Regions from separate parts of the Homo sapiens genome. Here regions 2 and 3 are each linked to region 1. The links are contacts of gene promoters, found by promoter capture Hi-C in blood cells and fetal thymus (Javierre and others, 2016). All regions are on one chromosome and are shown on one strand. The core of a region is centred on a gene start or on the middle of the fragment in contact, and the rest is flanking DNA. Distances in the headings are between cores, read along the strand shown. Region 1 holds the start of SLC45A1 (solute carrier family 45 member 1). Region 2 overlaps RERE (arginine-glutamic acid dipeptide repeats). Region 3 has its middle 30 kb from the start of ERRFI1.

Region 1 (4,854 bases), core at 957-3,456:
TTTTTTCAAGCTGTTACCCTGTTATAGAGATAAAAGAAGCCAGAACCAGCCCCCTCCAGTGGCTCCTTCTCTTCAGCCTGGGCAGGATCTGTTGAAATTCCCATGGTGTCCTCTGGGGCCCTCTGCCCTGCGCCTCTCCCTGGCAGTGCGAGGTCCACAGTTCACCTGCAATTAGCTCCCATGTGCAGGGGACTCATAAAGGAGCATCTTTGAGCTCCAGACCCAAGTGTCTGGTGGCCTAGAGGCTGCGAAGGCCCTCAAGCTCAGCATATCCCAAAGCAAACCTATGGCATTCACTCCAGCACACACCTGCTTTGGCCTCCATGAATCCACTCTCTTCCCTCATCGCTCAAGCTAGAAACTTCTTAGCACCACCCTCGCTGTTCCTGTACCCCCCCACCTTCAGTCAATCATGGAGTCCTAAGTCCCCGGCCAGTCCATCACCTCTCTCCCTCTACCAACACCCCCAACTCTCCCACCTGTGCCACCCGGTACGCCCATGTGGTCCCCTGGTTCCCTCCAATCTGTTTTCACTCTGAGCTTTATGATCTTTGCTAACTGTGAATAGGATTCATGCCATCCACTCCCCTACATAAAACCTTTCTAGGCTTCTCTTTGCTCTTAGAAACTGGCAACTGCCTAAGAGGCCACACCTGGGCCTGTCCCACCTCCCCAGCCCTCACCTCCTTCCCAGGCCTCTGCATCCCTGTCCCCCTCCACTTCCTTTGCAGTGTGCCTCCAGGCCCTCTCCCCTCCGGAGCTCTGCCAGTGCAGAGCTCTCTGAGCCCTCTGTGTGGGACATGCTGTTCTCTCTACTTGGCCTGGTAGGGCTCCTTGAGGAGCCCTCGACCCTCCCAATGGGGTGGAATCCGCCGCGGTAAACTTCCACAGGGCCCCGTGCCCCCACTCTGCAGCGCTTCCCTGGGGTTATTATTCCACTACCAGCTGCATAATTATTTCATCCGTAATTATTGGACTCAGCCCAGCTCACTTCTGCCCCTGGCCTTTGCACTTGCTCTTCCCAGTGCCTGGCGTGACCTTCCCCACACGTCAGTCTGGCTGGCCCCCCTAGCTCCTCAGGTCCTTCTTTTCTTTTTGAGATGGAGTCTCACTCTGTGGCCCAGGCTGGAGTGCAGTGGCACGATCTCAGCTCACTGCAACCCCTGCCTCCCAGGTTCAAGCGATTCTCCTGCCTCAGCTGAGTAGCTGAGATTACAGGCACCCAGCACCACGTGTGGCTAATTTTTATATTTTTAGTAGAGATGGGGGTTTTGCCATGTTGGCCAGGCTGGTCTCGAACTCCAGACCTCAGGTGATCTGCCCCTCTCGGCCTCCCAGAGCGCAGGGATTACAGGTGTGAGCCACCGTGCCCGGCCTGCTCCGCAAATCCTCCTTCTAGTGTCACCTTCCAGGTGAGGACTCGCCAACAACCTGATAGAAACCTGCAAGGCCAGCGCCTCTGCAGCCCCACACTCCCTAACCCCTTCTCTAGGGCATTGCCATCTTCTGACATACCATTTATTTTATGTCTTGTTTAATGTGTGTGTGTCTCTCTCTTAAATGTCATGCAGCCGGGTGCGGTGGCTCACACCTGTACTTTGGGAGGCCGAGGCAGAAGGATCACTTGAGCCCAGGAGTCGAGACCAGCCTGGGCAACATAGCAAGGCCCTGCCTCTCTGTATTTTAAAAAATGAAGTAAATAATAAATACATAAAGTATTTATGTATTTACTTACATTACAAAGTTCCCCCAGGGGCGGGAACTTTGCCTTGTTCTTGCGGCATCCCCAGTGCCTTGGACAGCTCCGGGCCCAGAGTCGCGACGCCTCCAGCAGGCCCGGCTGCCCCACTGCGCACATGGGCACAGGCTTGGCACACGCACTGCGGCATTCACGTATCCGCGAACACATGGGTATCTATTTATACATGAAGACACGAAAATGTATTTATTTCTTTTAAAATCAGAAGAAAACGGTGAGAACTGTGAGGCCGGGGGGACGTTTTCCTCCGGGATCCTGGCAGATCCTGCAGACCGCGCCGTCGTGCGCGAAGCACCGGGACGGGCCTCCCGCGGGAAGGGCCCAGGAGGACACCGGGCTCCCCTCCCGCCCGCGGGGCCCCAGACGCGGCGCCGCTTTAAGGCTCCGGGCCCCGCGCGGATGCGGAGGCTGCGGCCGTGACGTCAGCGCCCCGCCCCGGGTGATGCTGCAGCAGCCGGGACCGCGGCCGGGCAGGCAGCAGCCCAGCGGGGACAGGGATGCCTGCCGTCTCCACCCACAGGTACCACCGTCTCCTCCGCGCCCTCCGCCCGCTCTCTGGCTCCGTGCCTGCCGGGGCGCCGCGCCCTGGGCCCCGGGGTAGTCAGGGCGCCGAGACCGGGACCCGAGGCCGGCACGGAGACCTTTGTTCCTCGTGGAAGTCTCATGAATTGCAGAGTCCACGGAGCTCCCCCGTCTCGCCCCTCCGAGGGCAGGAGCCTCGGGCCCAGGGGAGGGTGCCGGCCAGATGGCAGGTGCTCTCATCCTTGCTGGCAAGGGGAGGAGACCCCGGCCTTGGCCCCAGCTCCTGATGCGCTCCTTGAGCCGGAGGCCTGGTCCCTAGTCACCTGGGCAGGTGTCATCCGCTCCCGGCTCACCTCTTGCGTGGGGCTGAGCCCTCTTGTTGACCAGGGGCCTGGCAACGCCCCTCAGCATCCCAGGGTTACTTAGCGAGGGCACCGAGGACTCCCCTTTCCCGAGCGAGTCAGCACCAAGGGGAACGCGCTGAGGTGGAAGCCGTTCAGCTCCTTCTGCCCTCGACAATCAGCAACTTCTCTAATTATTTCTAGAGTGACAGCCGTGCATGTTTTTCAGCTCTTACAGGGAAGCAGAGTCAGGGGCGGAGGAAAGCCACGTTCAGGCTGCACCTGGCCTGGGCTTTTGGGAAAAGTTGGCCCTGGAGTAGGGGTCAAGCTGCCGGAGATGCAAAGTGGGAAACGGCCACGATTCAGTAACTAGCCTATTAAGTGCACCCTCCCAAGTCCGTAGAGCACCTTCCTGGTCCTGGAGGACCTCACTGAAGAATTTTGAGAATGGGTAGAAAGAAGCATGAGGGGTCGGGCGCGGTGGCTCATGCCTGTAATCCCAGCACTTTGGGAGGCTGAGTCGGGTGGATCACCTGAGGTCAGGAGTTCAAGACCAGCCTGGCCAACATGGTGAAACCCCATCTCTACTAAAAATACAAAATTAGCCGGGCGTGGTGGCACATGCCTGTAATCCCAGCTACTTGGGAAGCTGAGGCAGGAGAATCGCTTGAACCCAGGAGGCGGAGGTTGCAGTGAACCCAGATCATGCCACTGCACTCTAGTCTGGGCGATAGAGTGAGACTCCGTCTCAAATAAACAAATAAGCAAATACGCCCTAGGAAGGGAGGTGGCCCAAGGCAACCCCGTGGGGGGAGCTCATTTTCATAACGAGAAGAAAGAAATGAGGAAATGGTTTCCGCTCGTAGTAGGATCATTGTAAGCATTCAAACTACATTGACATTGATTACTTTTATTAATCATTTGCCGCTTAAACTTCCCACAACACAGTTTGAGGAATCTGTTACTTTAAGCATCCTCTGTACTCTGGAAGCACAGTGGACCCCTTGCATAGCCTTCGGGGGATCCAGGGAGATGAGTGGATTTCCTTTTGACCGAGTAAATGGTCATATGGTACAGTAAAGATGGTCTGGCGAATGTTTGTATTTGTGCATGAAAATTAGATTTTATGATCTTAAATTCCACTTTCACCCATTTTTATGGGAACCTTAAAAATGGATTTTTGTTGTTGTTGTTGTTGTTTTTTGAGACAAGAGTCTCACTCTGTTGCCCAGGCTGGAGTGCAGTGGTGCGATCTCAGCTCGCTACAACCTCCACCTCCTGGGTTCAAGCGATTCTCCTGCCTCAGCCTCCGGAGTAGCTGGGATTACAGGCACTCGCCACCATGCCCAGCTAATTTTTTGTATTTTTAGTAGAGACGGGGTTTCTCCATGTTGGCCAGGCTGGTCTCGAACTCCTGAGCTCAGGTGATCCACCCACCTCGGCCTCCCAAAGTGCTGGCATTACAGGCGTCAGCCACTGTGCCCGGTCTCAAAAATGAGTTTCTAAAATTCTTCTTATGATAAACATTTGTGAACAGTTTTTACTAAATGTAGTTTTAATAAAAATGGTAATGCTGATCCCCAGATTTGAAGATGAATCCTTAGTAAAGACTTCTTCTGAGCCAGGATTAAGCTAGGTTTAATTCTGGTTCAGATGCTAGAGAGAAGTTCATTGAGTGTGTGAGGATCTCCCTTCTGCTAGGACAGGCTGCAGTGGGGTGTGGCGGAGGTGGCAGTAGAGTTGTCCTCTTGCAGGTAGAGAAGTGGGCCGTCTACATAGTCCACTTTAAATAAGGTCAAAGAGGCTCCTCTTTTCAAAAAGACACTTCAGGGGCTGGGAATGGTGGCTCATGCCTGTAATTCCAACACTTTGGGAAGCCAAGGCAGGTGGATCACTTGAGCCCAGGAGTTTGAGGCCAGCCTGGGCAACATGGCGAAACCCCATCTCTACAAAAAAATACAAGAATTAGCCTGGTGTGGTGGTGTGCACCTGTAGTTCCAGCTATTTGGGAGGCTGAGGTGAGAGGATCACCTGAGCCCAGGGAGGTTGAGGCTGCACTGAGCGATGATGACTGCACTCCAGCCTGGGCTAGATAGAGGGAGACTCTGTCTGTCTGTCTGTCTGTCTGTCTCTCTCTCTCTCTCTCTGTTTCTCTCTCTCTCTACACACACACACACACACACACACACACACACACACACACACCTGCCATATGCTGTTTAAAGCTGAAGT
Region 2 (4,854 bases), core at 1,674-4,173, 440 kb after region 1:
CAATGCAGAGGGATTGTTTGAGCCTAGAAGTTCAAGACCAGCTTGGGCAACATAGCGAGACCCCATCTCCACTAAACATTTTTAAAAATTTAAAAATAAAGTAAAAAATAATCAAATTGTCAATTTTATAATAACTATAGGTCAAGAAACAAGTATAATTCTTACAAGCAACTAATTCACAAAACAATTAGATCATGGCTAACCATTTGTTATTTTTAAAAAGTCAGAGCACCACTTATAACTAAAGTGACTACTGCCTGAACTGCAATATTCAAATTATTGCATTTTTATTACATTGCTTTGAAGGATATTCAGTGAAGATAATTATTAATTCTAGTGCTATATAATATTAGCATCACCCACACTCTTTTAAACAAAAAGGACCTAAAAGCCTCGACTCTGCATCTGAAGGGAGGAGAGCATGCCATATAATAAATTCAGTACAATCAAAATGAGAACCATATTTCTGTTTAACTTTATGCATCTTGGCTCAAGAGCCATAAAAAAAAAGTTATTAAAATTAATGCATCAAACTATAATTCTGTCCTTTTTATTACTGGTAATATTCTTTCTAAAATATTAGTCTGCTTTGCTGTACTACTATATCTTTTTGAAAGTTTTCTTTGAAGATCAGGATCACTTTAACTTTAGAATGAAAACATGCAATTATATTAATTTGGCACTGAATCTTGTTAGTTTCAGTGGGTTTGAAACTTTGAAAATGATTTATTCATTAGAAAGCCACATGTTGGCCAGACATGGTGGCTCACACCTGTAATCCCAGCACTTTGGGAGGCTGAGGTAGGTGGATCACCTGACGTCAGGAGTTTGACACCAGCCTGACCAACATGGTGAAACCCTGTCTCTACTAAATACAAAAAATTAGTCAGGCATGGTAGTGCATGCCTGTAATCCCAGCTACTTGGGAGGTGAGGCAGGAGAATCACTTGAACCCAGGAGGTGGAGGTGGCATTGAGCCGAGATTGTGCCATTGCACTCCAACCTGGGCAACAAGAGCAAAACTCCATCTCAAAAAAAAAAAAAAAAAAAAAGCAAACCAGTTACTGCTTCTGATGGCACTCATAAAGATGGAAGATAATGAAGCTACTTGTCATTCAACACAAAACACACAAAGAAAGTGTTAACAGCTGGCAAATGTCACAAAGTAAACATTTTCCTATTTCTGTTAAATAAAATTCATTCCTAATAATCACTGTCCTGTATGAACTTTCCCTAGCAAATTACTGCCCCATTTCTTTCACTAAATAATCAATTTTTTCTAAAGTTAACACAAAAGAAATACCCTGGAAATCCTCATTCTCTAGTCATGACTAAATGAATGAACCACATGGGCTACCAAAATCAAATTCTCTACTGCATCACTAATGTAATACTAAATAGGATGCTCCATCAAAAGAGACCTAGAATTTACATAATTTCCCATAAACTTATCAGAGGAACAAATGTAAGACAATGGGAAGAAAATCAAGATAAGCTCACTGTTGTTGCTGGTTTGTGTATTCCTGTCTTTCTCAACTCCTCCCACAGCTGATAGAACATTGTAGTTAAGAGAGCTGGTAGAAACTACTTCACTAAAATTATGTATTTGAACATCAGCCTTTTTTCATTCTAGTCAGCCTTTTTTCACTCTAAAGTATTAAATTCAACCAAAAAGCCAAACATTCAAAGTCTGTTCACCAAAAACACTCATCATAAAGATGTTTATTTACTATCCATATAAGGACGCAAAATGGTATTCCTAACAGCCAATACACAGAATCAACCTAAGTGTCCATCAACAGATGAATGGATAAAGTCACATACATATGTATACACACACACACACATACATACACACACACACACACACATATATATGCAATAGGATACTATGTGTTCTAAGAAAATTCTGTTACTTGCAACAATATGGATGAACCTGGAGGATACTATGTTAAGTGAAATAAGTCAGACATAGAAAGACAGATACTGTATGATCCCACGTATATGCAGAATCCTAAAACGTCAAGTTCAATTTTTTTTTTTTTAGAAAGAATCTCGCTCTGTCACCCAGGCTGGAGTGCAGTGGCATGATCCCAGCTCACTGCAACCTCCACCTCCCAGGTTCAAGCAATTCTCCTGCCTGAGTCTCTCGAGTAGCTGGGATTACAGGCCTGCGCCACCATGCCCGGCAAATTTTAGTATTTTTTAGTAGAGGTGTTTCACCATGTTGGCCAGGCTGGTCTCGATCTCCTGACCTCCTGATCCACCCACCCAGCCACCCAAAGTGCTGGGAACACACGTGTGAGCCACCGTGCCTGGCCCTCAATCTTTTTTTTTTTTTTTTTTTAAAGAAACGGGGTTTCACTCTGTTGCCCAAGCTGGAGTGCAGCGGCACAATCATAACTCACTGTAACCTCAAATTCCTGGGTGCAAGCAATCCTCCTGCCTCAGCCTCCTAAGTAGCTGGGACTACAGGTGTGCGCCACCACACCTAGCTAACTTTTTATTTTTATTTTTTGTAGTGACGAGGTCTCGCCAAGCTGGTCTCGAATTCCTAGGATCAAGGGGTCCTCCTGCCTCATCAACCTTTTTTTTGAAGCTGAAGTAGAAGCAAAGAGTAGAATGGTGGTTACCAAAGGCTGAGAGGAGGACTGGGGAAATGTGAGTCAAAGGACATAAAATTTCAGTGAGGAGGAATAAGTTCAAGAGATCAGCTTTATAATATAGTGACTATAATTAATAATAATGTATTATATTACTGAAAATTGCAAAGAAGAATTTAAGTGTCCTCACCACAAAAAAAAAAAATGTGAAGTAATACATATACTCATTTTAGCCATTCCACAATGTATATATATTTCAAACCATCATGGTATACACAATAAATGTGTACAATTTTTGTCAATTTAAAAAATGGGATTATTCTCTCACCTCAACATTGAGGTACTAACTAAAAAGATATTTCCCAACTACTCAGATGCTGAAGCCGGAGGATTGCTTAAGCCCAGGAGTTGGAGACCAGCCTGGGCAACACAGTGAGACTCCATCTTGAAAAAATAAATAAAAATAAAAAGATACTGTGATTGTCAAAGAAAGGAAAGAGGTATTAAGTCACTGAAAGGTTATATTTTTCCTTTAGAAAAATGAAAAATTCCTACTTTACTGTCAACTATTACCTCTTCTGACACATTAACTGTAGAATCCTTTTATATGAGAAAATTACTAAATCGGACACTACATCTCAGAATCTGCTAGAGGTCACTTGGAAAAGAGCATCATCCTTTCAAAAGGCAAGGATGAAGAATTAGAAAGAAAAAGGCCAGAAGCACACAAGTGAAACAAGCCAGTGCACCTGAGGCCTTTGTTGGTCCAATCAAACTATAGGTCACAGGTATTTCAAAAAGGGGAATAAAAGACAACTGCAGTTACTTTAGAAAAGGGTTAAATTCTCCAAAGTAGACGCTTCCCAAAAGAAAAAACAGAACGAAAACTGCAAAATTCTTTCTTCTCTCCTTTGGAGAATACGGTTTAGCACAGTTTTTAAAAAATCAAAATCTCAAGAGATATGGGTGCCATTCCCATCCCAATAACTAAGTGGCTCTGCTAACTGCAGGTTGTGTGAAACTGTACACCCACTACGCTCAATTGCAAAACAGCCATAAAGAACTTAGAACACTACACAAGTTCAACAGACATGAAGAAAAACACTACAAAATTCAAATGTGAGGGACAATTTTCCTGCCAATATACGTATAACTCTAAATTCTTACTCTCTCTATACACACACACACACACACACACACACACACACACACACAATATGTCTTGATGATCAGAGCTATTACACTGTATAAATCTAATTAAGGTCAGTTTCCTATATGGGAAAAGGAAGATTTATCTGAGAAATAATTCAAAATAAATTCTCCCCAAGTAAATAGACCTAGGCCTATCATTAGTTTAGTTTAGTTTTGTTTTGTTTTTTTGAGATGGAGTTTCACTCTTGTTGCCCAGGCTGGAGTGCAGTGGCGTAATCTCAGCTCACTGCAACCTCTGCCTCCCGGGTTCAAGCAATTCTCCTGCCTCAGCCTCCTGAGTAGCTGGGATTACAGGTGCCCGCCACCGCGCCCAGCTAATTTTTTGTATTTTCAGTAGAGACGGGGTTTCATCATGTTGGCCAGACTGGTCTTGAACTCCTGACCTCAGGTGATCCGCCCGCCTCGGCCTCCCAAAGTGCAGGGATTAGAGGCGTAAGCCACTGCGCCCAGCCCCTAGGCCTGTAATAGTTAAGACAATCATTTATACATCATTTATATCAATCACCACAGTCCACAAAAGTCAGCCTTAGATAAGATGCCAAAAATCGGAGATGAATTAAAAGAAAGAGTCCTGGGTCAGTAGTACAGCTTTGTTGCAAGTATCTGCAGGGACCTGGTAGAGGTGTGAGAGACACAGTTCCTTGGTGTGAAGGGTGAGAGGTCACAGGGAGGGTAGCAGGAAGCCCAAGAACAGGTAACTGAATTTGGACAGGCTTTTGATATTTTAAGCCCATTTCCATGGATTTTTGTTGTGTTTTGAAGATAGGGTCTCGCTCTGTCACCCAGGATGGTTTCTTAATATATTTACTATAATTATTCCCTTGGAATACTAATATTAATACTAAGTTAAATTCTTTGAAAATCCAGCCAGTGTCAGTTATGCTAAATGAAAACAAAACACTTTGTACAATTTTATATTTAAAAAGAGAAGCTCTACACTCTAGGATTAGAAGCAGTGGAGCCAGCAAGACTCTCAGGGCAACATTAGCTACCATTTATGGAGCACTTCTTATGTTCCATGTGCCAGGCTAAATTATTT
Region 3 (4,854 bases), core at 1,196-3,695, 320 kb before region 1:
AAGTGTATGTATGTTCCACATTTTGCTTATCCTTTCATCCCTTTATAGATTCTTGGGTTACTTCCACCTCTTAGCTATTGTGAATAATGCTGCTGTTAACATGGTGTCCACAGCTCTTCCGGACCCTGCTTTCGATTCTTTGGGGTATACACGCAGAAGTGGAATTGCTGAATCATATGGTCATTCTCATTGTGGTTTTGGTTTGCATTTTCCTAATGACTAATGATGTGGAGCATCTTTTCATCTGCTTATTGGCCATTTGTACATCTTAGATATGTCTATTCAAGTGCTTTGCCCATTAAATTTTTTTTTCCAGGGGCCATGCTAATAATCTGTGTTGTTCCATTTTTAGTATATGTGCTACTGAAGTGTGCACTTTGCCCAGTTTTGAATCGGGTTTTTGTTGTTGCTGCTGATATGATTTGTTTTTTTTTTTTTTTGAAACAGAGTCTCACTCTGTCTCCCAGACTGGAGTGCAATGGCGCGATCTCAGCTCACTGTAACCTCCACCTCCCGAGTTCAAGCGATTATCCCACCTCAGCCTCCCATGTAACTGGGATTACAGGCATGTGCCACCATGCCTGGCTAATTCTTTTGTATTTTTAATAGAGATGGGGTTTCATCATGTTGACCAGGCTGGTCTTGAATTCCTGGCCTCAAGTGATCCACTTGCCTCAGCCACCCAAAGTGCTGGGATTACAGGCGTGAGCCACTATGGTTGACCCACGCATAAGCCAACTTTAATGTTTTTCAATAAAGTTTTGTAATTTCCCCATTAAGCGTTTACACATCTTTTGGATTTATTGTTGGTATTATTAGGTCTGTCTTTTTTTCTTTCTTCTTTCTCTCTTCTCTTTCTTTCTCTTTTCTTTCTTTTTCTTTCTTTCTCTCTCCCTTTCTTTCTTTTTCTCTCTTTCCTTTTCTTTCTCTCTCTCCCTTTCCTTTCCTTTTCTTTTTCTCTTTTTTTCCTTTTCCTTCTTTCTCTTTCTTTCTTTCTCTTTCTCTCTCTCTCTTTCTTTCTCTTTCTCTCTCTCTCTTTCTTCCTTTCTCTTTCTCTCTCTCTCCTTCCTTCCCTCCCTCCCTCCCTCCTTCCTTCTTTCCTTCTTTCTCCTTTTTCTTTCTTTCCTCCCTCCCTCCCTCCCTTCCCTCCTTCCTTCCTTTCTTTTTCATTGTTAATTCCTTTTTTAAATTGTTTTCTGATTGTTGCTGGTATATAGAAATACAGATACTTTTATTTACTTATTTACTTTTTTAAGAGACAGGGTCTTCCTCTGTCACGCAGGCTGGAGTACACTGGTGTGATCAAATTTATGACCTGCTTTTAGGCAAAAAGGGGGAGGGCAGAGAACTCTTTCTGGATCTGTTGATTCTCAATTGCCTTCAGCTCAAAATAATCTTTATGTCAAAGTCGCATATTCTGTGGTGGCCTGTCCGGATCCCCTTCAAGTCTCTCTGACCTTTCTTCTGCCCTCCAGCCTGGGTGACAGAGCTAGAGTCTGTCTCAAATAATAATAATAATACAATAAATAAATAAATAAATAAATAAATAAATAAAGTACGCTTTCCATTCTTGGTTTGCTAAGAGTTTTTGTCATGAGTAGATGTTGAAATTTATTGAATGGTTTTCCATCATCAGTGACATCTTCTGGCTTTTCTCCTTTAATCTATTACCATGGTGAATTATATCAGTAGATTTTCTTTTTCTTTTTTTTTGAGACAGAATCTCGCTCTGTCGCCCAGGCTGGAGTGCAGTGGCGCGATCTCAGCTCACTGCAAGCTCTGCCTCCCGGGTTCATGCCATTCTCCTGCCTCAGCCTCCCCAGCAGCTGGGACTACAGGTGCACGCCACCACGCCTGGCTAATTTTTTTGTATTTTTAGTAGAGACGGGGTTTCACCGTGTTAGCCAGGATGGTCTCCATCTCCTGACCTTGTGATCTGCCCGCCTCGGCCTCCCAAAGTGCTGGGATTACAGGTGTGAGCCACCGCGCCCAGCCTTATGTCAGTAGATTTTCTAATGAACTAGTCTTGCATGCCTGAAGTAAACCCAATGTGGTCATTATGTTTTTATACATTACCAGGTTCTATTTGATAAGTATGTAATTTAAGGGTTTTTACATCTCATGGGTAAAGTTGAACTGAAACTTTCCTTTCTTGTACTGTCTTTGTACAGTTTTGGAATCACAGTTACGCTGAAGTCCTATCTTTTTTTTTTTTTTTCAGATGGAGTCTCACTCTGTTCCCCAGGCTTGAGTGCAGTGGTGCAATCTCGGCTCACTGCAAGCTCCGCCTCCCAGGTTCGTGCCATTCTCCTGCCTCAGCCTACCGGAGTAGCTGGGACTACAGGTGCCCGCCACCACGCCCGGCTAATTTTCTGTATTTTTAGTAGAGACAGTGTTTCACTGTGTTTGCCAGGATGGTCTCAATCTCCTGACCTTGTGATCCGCCTGCCTTGGCCTCCCAAAGTGCTGGGATTACAGGCATGAGCCACCGTCCCTGGCCTAAAGTCGTGTCTTGAGTTGGGGAGCATGTTAGGCCATTCTTGCATTGCTATAAAGAAATACCTGAGATTGGGTAATTTATAAAGAAAGAGGTTGATTTGGCTTACGGTTCTGCAGGCTGTACTGGAAGCATGGCCCTGGCATGTGCTCGGCTTCTGGGGAGGCCTCAGGGAGCTTTTGCTCATGGTGGAAGATGAAGTGATAACAGGAGTCTCACATGGTGGGAGCAGGAGCAAGAGATGGGGGTCGGGGAGTAGATGCCACACACACTTGACAACAACCACATCTCGGGAGAACTCACTACCAAGAAAACTGCACCAAGCCATGGAGGATCCGTCCCCATGACCCAAACGTCTCCCACCAGGCCCCACCTCCAACACTGGGGATAATTCAATATGAGACTTGGGTGGGGACAAATATCCTAACTATATCGGGAGTATCCCTCTTCTGCTTTTCTATATAAATATTTCTGAAGGGTAAGAAATACCTATTCTTTGAATGTTTCATGGAAATTTCCCCTAAATCCACCTGGGTGTCAAGTTTTTAAAAACGGAGCTGAAATTCATCTAACAGAATGAACCATGTTGAAGCAGACTGTTCAGGGGCACTTAGTACATTCATAATGTGCAGTCCTCACTGCTGTCCAGCTCCGTAATACTTTCATCCCTCAGAGTAGATCCGGTGCTCATTAGAAGTCATCCTCACTCCCCAGTCCTCTCTCCCACAGCCTCTGACAAACCCTATTTGACCTTCTACCTCTATGGATTTACCTATAATGGATGTTTCATGTAAATGGAATCATATAACATAATGGAGTAATATTGTATGGATGTACCACATTTTGTTTATCCATTTATCCACTGATAGACATTTGGCTTTGTCTTCTGGCTATTGTGAATACCACTGCTATGAGCATTCATGTACAACCATTTATTTCACTACCTGTTCGCAATTCTTTTTTCTTTTTTTTTCTTTCTTTTTTTTTTTTTTTTTTTTTGAGATGGAGTCTTGCTTTGTTTCCCAGGCTGGAGTGCAGTGACACAATCTCAGCTCACTGCAACCTCTGCCTCCTGGATTCAAGTGATTCTCCTGCCTCAGCCTCCCTAGTAGCTGGGATTACAGGTGCACGCCACCATGCCCAGCTAATTTTTGTATTTTTAGTAGAGACAGGGTTTCACCATGTTGGCCAGGCTGGTCTCAAACTTCTGATGTCAGGTGATCCACCTGCCTCGGCCTCCTAAAGTGCTGGGATTACAGGCATGAGCCACCACACCCAGCCAAGAGCTGATTATTAAAAAGAGTTTCGCACCTCCTCCATTCCCTCTTGCTCCCTCCCTTGCCATGTGACAAGGCCAGCTGCCCCTCCTTCTGCCATGAGTGGAAGCAGCTTGAGGCCTCACCAGAAGCAGATGCTGGCACCATGCTTCTTGTACAGTCTACAGAACTGTGAGCCAAATAAACCTCTTTTCTTTATAAGTTACCCAGCCTCAGGTATTCTCAGGTATCTTTTATAGCAACACTAAATGAACTAAGACACTTTCATATCTCTTAACCTCTTTTTCATATTTTCAGTTTCTTTACTTTTTTGTACTGTATTCTGTATAATATTGTTTTCTGTGTAATATTTTCAGATCCACTGTCTAGTTCATAATTCTTTTTTTTTTTTTTAATTTTTTTGGGATAGGGTCTCACTCTGTCACCCAGACTGGAGTGCAGTGGTATGATCTCGGCTCACCACAACCTCCGCCTCCCAGGTTCAAGAGATTCTCCTGCTTCAGTCCCCCAAGTAGCTGGGATTACAGGTGTGCACCACTACTGCCTAGCTAATTTTTGTATTTTTAGTAGAGACAGGTTTTCCCCATGTTGGCCAGGCTGGTCTCAAACTTCCGACCTCAAATTATCCACCTGCCTTGACCTCCCAAAATGCTGGGATTACGGGCGTGAGCCACTGTGCCCAGCTCTCACAATTTTTTTACCTGTGTTCATTCTGGTGGCTAATGCATCCATTGGTATAATAATTTTAATTATTATATGTAAATTTTATTTTTAGATGTTTTATTTCTTTTTTTTTTTGTCTTAGTTCATTTTTGCTGCTATAACAGAATACCTGAAACTGGGTAATTTATAAAGAACAGAAATTTATTGTCTCACCATTCTGGAGGCTGGGAAGTCAAATAGCAAGGTGCCAGCATCTGGTGAGGGCCTTCTTGCTATGTCATCATATGGCAGAAGACATCACGTGGTGGAAAAGCAAAGAAAAAGTAGAAGAGGCCAGGTGAGGGAGCTCACACCTGTAATCCCAGCTCTTTGGGAGGCTGAGGTGGGTGGATCTCCTGAGATCAGGAGTTCGAGACC

Evidence for each region. The method cuts DNA at HindIII sites, captures the fragments that hold promoters and counts their contacts. A CHiCAGO score of 5 or more calls a contact.
Region 2: a fragment that was not itself captured here is called in contact with the fragment with the promoter of SLC45A1 in region 1 in 1 of 17 cell types (total B cells); the score reaches 5.2 in total B cells.
Region 3: a fragment that was not itself captured here is called in contact with the fragment with the promoter of SLC45A1 in region 1 in 16 of 17 cell types (endothelial precursors, M2 macrophages, naive CD4 T cells and 13 more); the score reaches 30.8 in endothelial precursors.

The regions. Positions count from the first base shown.
Region 1 is chr1:8,315,908-8,320,761 of GRCh38, forward strand. SLC45A1 (solute carrier family 45 member 1) reads left to right here and starts at 2,207. Exons shown (of 9, transcript NM_001080397.3): 1 at 2,207-2,279. RefSeq lists a silencer at 2,037-2,316. The HindIII fragment of the contact is 5,366 bases long and covers 1-4,854 here.
Region 2 is chr1:8,756,060-8,760,913 of GRCh38, forward strand. All of the region lies in intron 1 of RERE (arginine-glutamic acid dipeptide repeats), which reads right to left. Among named protein-coding and RNA genes, the nearest start is that of RERE, 59 kb to the right of the region's middle. The HindIII fragment of the contact is 6,872 bases long and covers 1-4,854 here.
Region 3 is chr1:7,994,100-7,998,953 of GRCh38, forward strand. No RefSeq gene overlaps it. Among named protein-coding and RNA genes, the nearest start is that of ERRFI1, 30 kb to the right of the region's middle. The HindIII fragment of the contact is 8,948 bases long and covers 1-4,854 here.